Regions from separate parts of the Homo sapiens genome. Here region 1 is linked to region 2. The links are contacts of gene promoters, found by promoter capture Hi-C in blood cells and fetal thymus (Javierre and others, 2016). All regions are on one chromosome and are shown on one strand. Each heading gives the region's core, a stretch centred on a gene start or on the middle of the fragment in contact. The rest is flanking DNA. Distances are from core to core; before and after follow the strand shown. Region 1 overlaps LRRC9 (leucine rich repeat containing 9). Region 2 holds the start of TRMT5 (tRNA methyltransferase 5).

Evidence for each region. The method cuts DNA at HindIII sites, captures the fragments that hold promoters and counts their contacts. A CHiCAGO score of 5 or more calls a contact.
Region 1: a fragment that was not itself captured here is called in contact with the fragment with the promoter of TRMT5 in region 2 in 1 of 17 cell types (total CD8 T cells); the score reaches 5.5 in total CD8 T cells.

Annotation. Positions count from the first base shown.
Region 1 is chr14:59,964,901-59,967,600 of GRCh38, forward strand. It overlaps LRRC9 (leucine rich repeat containing 9), which reads left to right. Exons shown (of 33, transcript NM_001395648.1): 11 at 1,689-1,865; 12 at 2,196-2,313. Among named protein-coding and RNA genes, the nearest start is that of LRRC9, 46 kb to the left of the region's middle. RefSeq lists an enhancer at 387-446. The HindIII fragment of the contact is 1,688 bases long and covers 457-2,144 here.
Region 2 is chr14:60,979,721-60,982,420 of GRCh38, forward strand. TRMT5 (tRNA methyltransferase 5) reads right to left here and starts at 1,359. Exons shown (of 5, transcript NM_020810.3): 1 at 1,243-1,359; 2 at 1-166. The coding sequence starts at 1,253. It overlaps SLC38A6 (solute carrier family 38 member 6), which reads left to right and starts at 1,525. Exons shown (of 16, transcript NM_153811.3): 1 at 1,525-1,662. The coding sequence starts at 1,558. RefSeq lists an enhancer at 1,249-1,628. The HindIII fragment of the contact is 5,504 bases long and covers 1-2,700 here.

The sequences.
Region 1 (2,700 bases), core at 51-2,550, 1.0 Mb before region 2:
AGATCCTGGCTGCATTGATTAAGTATTTGCTTGTGAGAAATATAGATGCCCTAAGTTAGGAGCTCAGCTATTAGGCTCAAGGAGAGACTACCCATCAGGAAGCTCACCTCTGTGACCTTAGCTCACACCCATTTCAGACCCTGGTTGATTATGTAGGTGAGGACCTAGATCTTTCATTAAAGGCAAATGTATTCCTTATAAGACCATTTACTTCCTTCTCAAAATGATCCGTTTTTCAATCTCATCTTAATCTAGGTTCTGTGCTAGACAGGACCGGAATTTTATGCGTATGGCCAGGTGAGGGCAGCAGAGAGCAAACAAGCACTTCAGTGTTATTTTCACACAGCTGGCCCCTGCTCCTCCTCCTCCAATTTTCAGATCAAATATCTTAACGTCTCTGAAAGGTCGTCCCCAAGGCCCTATCTTAAGTAGGTCCCCTTTGCATTCCTTACCCCAAGCTTCTCTTCAGAGCCTTTTTCAGTTTAGAAATTTTATTTCTGGCTTTACTTGTTTAGGCTTCATTAGAGCAGACAATGCCTCTTTCACATCCGTATTCATTGTCAGGAAGTTATTTCAGTAGTCCAATGAGAGATCGTGGTGATTTGGATTAGGATGGTAACAGTGGTGATGATGAAACACGATCACATTCAGGATGGATTTTAGATGTAGAGCCAGGCGGACTTGCTAAAGAATTAGATACTGGGGCCGGGCGCGGTGGCTCACGCCTGTAATCCCAGCACTGGGAGGCCGAGGTGGGCGGATCACGAGGTCAGGAGATTGAGACCATCCTGGCTAACACGGTGAAACCCCGTCTGTATTAAAAACACAAAAAATTAGCCGGGCGTGATGGCGGGCGCCTGTAGTCCCAGCTACTCGGGAAGCTGAGGCAGGAGAATGGCGTGAACCCGGGAGGCGGAGATTGCAGTGAGTGGAGATGGCGCCCCTGCACTCTAGCCTGGGCGACAGAGCGAGACTCCGCCTCAAAAAAAAAAAAAAAAAAAAAAAAAAAAAAAAAAAAAAGATACTGGTGAGGAAGAAAGGAGAGGATTATTCCTACGGTTTTGACTTAAGCTATCAGTTAAATGGTGGTGCCATATACTGAGATGGAAAATACTCAGAGGAGCAGGTTTGGGGTGCAGTGTTAGTTATGTTAGGTTGGAGTCACCTGTTTAACATGCAGATGGACATACCAAGTAGGTAGTTGGATATTCAAGTCTGGGTATAACCAGCTAAGTTGAGTAGAGATCAAGACTAGAAATAAAATGTTGTAATTTATCAGGATGTATATAAAGCCAAGGAACCACGTGAAATCATCTAGGGAGAGTGTTCGTGGAAGCAAGAGGAAGGCCAAAGGCTGATCCCTGGGCAGTTCAACATCTAAAAGTCTGTCTGAGAAGACCCAGCAAGAAAACTATGAAAGAGCAGCCAATAAGAGGAAGGCGTATGAAGTTTCCCTGAAGCTAAGAAAGTGTTTCAGAAAGTGAAGATTGCTCAACCAACCTGTCTTCCAGGCAGAACAAATGTGCAATAAATGAATAAATAAACGGAGCCACTATATGATTACTGTATCTTTAGCAAAAGACACAAAATATGAGCTATAACTTTTATCACGTAGTTTTCTGTTCTTAAACATTTTAAGGAAAATCTATTATTTTCTTCATGTATATTCTGTATGTATTCCCACATAGGTTTAATTTCTGCTATGAATTAATTCTGTCACGTTTTTGTGCCTGGGACTTCAGAACATACGGTATTACAGGAGTAAAAGTAAAACGCATCATTAAAGTTAACAACCGTATTCTGAGACTAAAATTCGAAGAGAAATTTCAAAAGTTTTTGGAGAATGAAGATATGCATGATTCAGAGTAAGAAGCTGAATTCTTTATGGAACAACTTTACAAAAGTGTGACTGTATTTGTAAAATTTCTATTTTAAAAGTTTACAGCATTAAAAATATACATATACCTTGTTAGTAAATGTTTCCTTTTTATGCATCTCCCATGGCCAGGATGACCTCATAATTTATCCACATTGAGCCTGTTTTTGAGGTTGAAGGCAGGGGAGCTATTAATAATGACACTAGAACATTGCATGTCAATGACAAATATCCCTGGCAGGACATATGGTTATCTTATCTATGGCTAAGCTTTTGTGAAATCAATCCTCAAACTTTTTCTGTTTCAATTATTCTTAAGGAGCTACCGAAGGATGCTGGAATGCCTTTTTTATGTTTTTGATCCTGAAGTTTCAGTGAAGAAAAAGCATCTTCTACAAATACTTGAAAAAGGATTCAAAGACAGTGAAACAAGCAAGGTAGCATAAAATGTCATTTAGAATAATGCTTTCTTCCTAGCAAGTGGAGCTCTGCCGCTGGTTAAGCATGATTTCCCAATCCTTTTATCCATATTTATAGTAAATTTCTACTGCTGTTTCACAAAAAGCTTAGTGTTATCATGGAAAGTATAGCATCTTTCCTCTTTGGATTATACCAAAGTAAGCCCATTAATTACTACTGCCTGACCCTACGTAATCCTTCTAGGCATCTTATTTTTATGTTGTGTTCCTTTTGTTGATGGTTTTGAAATCTGCTTTTTAAATTGGTTATAAATCTTTAATCTTTTGTAAACTCTCCAGTCTTCACCTTGAAGCAATTCAGTCACTTAACTCCACTGTACTTTCTAGCTATTGCTTTCCTTTTAC
Region 2 (2,700 bases), core at 109-2,608:
GGTTGAGAATCTTTTTCTTTGACCCAATAAGAAAATACCAGGTGCTTCCAAAAGCATCTGTGTCAGGGATGTCCAAGCTACTGGAATCAACGATTTTGATTCAGTTATGCTATGGCTTTCCAGTTTCAGAAATCTTCCTGAGAATCCAAATGGCCTCCATAAGATCCTTAAAAAAAAAAAAAAAAAATTCACACACGACAGCTTTTGAGAATAAAAATCTAAATTCTACTATCTCAAATAACGGGCTAAATGCTGACAAATAAAACGTTTAGTGATGTGTGGGAAGTATACTATCTTTTCCAGACTAGGATGACTTCTTCAGGAAGTCGTATTAGTGGTAGATAATAGTGGTATATATTAAATTTACACCTTCAACCCATCTGCTCCCAGTTCAGAGGGCTTAGTGATCCATTAGCCATACTCAATGATCCTCTTCACCCACAATTTTCTAGATAATACATTTGGGATTGGAAGACTGAAGTATGAGTTAAATGGTCATCTGTAAATGAAATAGTCATTATACATGACCATTACTAGTGGTGATATTTATTAGGATAGTCTCATGGGTGCTTATTGTGTCAGATACTGCGCTAAATGCTTTATGTACATTATGAATCTTGGGAGGTGTGCAGTATTGCACCCTCATTTTGTAAATAAGTAAACTAAAGCTCAGACGTAAGGTAACCCACCCAAAGTCTCCCAGCTGATAAGTGGCTAAACATGGATTAAAACCTAGTTTTGACTGACTTCGGTGCTTGTGTTCTTAATATATTGCTCTGTTGTTTGTTTTCGATGCTTTACTGCCACATGTCCTGCCTTTAACTAGAGGCTTCTGTATTTTGAGGACGAGAGCTTTGCTGATTGTTATATGCATAGTATCAGTTATTCACTGTCTTCTAAAATACCAAAGAATTTACTTGTAAGGGGAAAGGGCCCTGTCCCAGAATCCTGTAAAGCAACGAAGTCTAACTTCACCGTCAGAGATCAAATTGGTTCTAGCAGCTGACCAGCTGGGTGACCCTGGATAAATTACTATAAGTCTCGGTTTTCCCACCAGTAAAATGTGGCGAAAGGCTTTTGAAACATTCCTTACTATCCAGAACCTCGAAACTAAGCTCAGCACCTAGGCGGGTGGGTGACCTCGCGATGTTTCTGTGCCCAGGCAGCACATGGCAGAGAGCAGCCCTGGGCGGGCTGGTACCTCCCCTGGACCATTAGCCCCTAACGCGGCCGCCACCTCACCAAAGCACCATTCCAATTCCCCACGTCGCTCTGCAGCTGGATCCGCGAGCCGACCCCTCACCTCCCGCTCCGGTACCGATCGGATGTGGGTCGCGGGTGGATGGGCGGGTCTTCTATGACATCATCACTGTTCGCCGCGAAGAGGGCGCGCGTCATCAGATCAAGTCGACTCGCTCCTCTCCTTCCAGGCCCTGGTGAAGTACGGAATGCCGGAAGGGCCGGGCTCAAAGCTCCGCCTCTGGCGCGACCGACGACTGGAGCGCAGGGCAGGGGTAGAGGCTCGTAGATGGAACTGGTAGTCAGCTGGAGAGCAGCATGGAGGCGTCCTGGGGGAGCTTCAACGCTGAGCGGGGCTGGTATGTCTCTGTCCAGCAGCCTGAAGAAGCGGAGGCCGAAGAGTTGAGTCCGTTGCTAAGCAACGTAAGTGGGCTGTGTTCGCTTCCCCGCGCTGACGCCCTCCGGCTTCCCTCAAGTGCCTGCCAAATAAGACCCAGAAAAGGAGGACCGCACCGGGACAGGGGAGATGCTGGAGCCTGAACCCTGGGGGATGGGGTCTGAAGGCAGCCGCCGAGATTCAGATGAGATTGGCGCAGTTATGAACGTGATAGCAGCCTAGCATACTCTAGAAAGAAAAGATGAAAAGCGTCGGGTGGAAGAGATGCAGCGTTGAGTGGAAGCTGCGAACATGATGGGATGAGCGGCCCTAGGATTATGTACTCACTGCTGTTAGTTAGTATTTTTGTCACCTTATTTTCTCCACCAGTCTCGTGAGGTCTTTGCAAGAGTCACAGGATTTTCCTCTTCCGACTTAGTCATGGGGGGAGGGAAAATAATAAACATTTTAATACAGAAATTCTTAGCGGTAGAATGGAAGTGGCTTGGTAGTAAGTGCATAGCACGTTCCTGACCCTAAAGCCTGTGCAGTGGGCACTCCGCTTTTTAACTCGAGTCCTAGACACTGTTCCCAGGACTTTGTTCCCGGTGCTGTTTGTGGGGAGGGGGATGTTTTCAGGGATACTGCCAGAACAACGTGAATTGCTTCTGTTTATAATATTGTCATTGCAAGATATTCCTGACCATCCTTCCAGTTTGGTAGAACTAATTCATTAGATATATAAGTAGAGATTAGTTGTGCAGTCCTAGTAATTGAGGAGAAACAACTGCCCACAGCAGTCCCAGGTTGACTCAGCAATTCTTTAGTAATCACATGAGCTGAGGCCTTATCCCTCCTCTCTCTCCCCACTCCATTCCCATCCTATCTTCATCTCTTGCAGTCACAAGGTTAGTCATGGCCCTTCCTGAACTCTGCCTGTCTTGTGTACTGGTGGAAATCATTTTCCTAAGAAACCCTAGATTCCTGGAGCTGCAGTAGTGGGAGGTGGGAAGGAAAGGAAAGGAAATTAGTGTTGGTTAAGCAACGAGTGTGTCATACAAACCCTGGTGGTTTGCAGCTTTTTT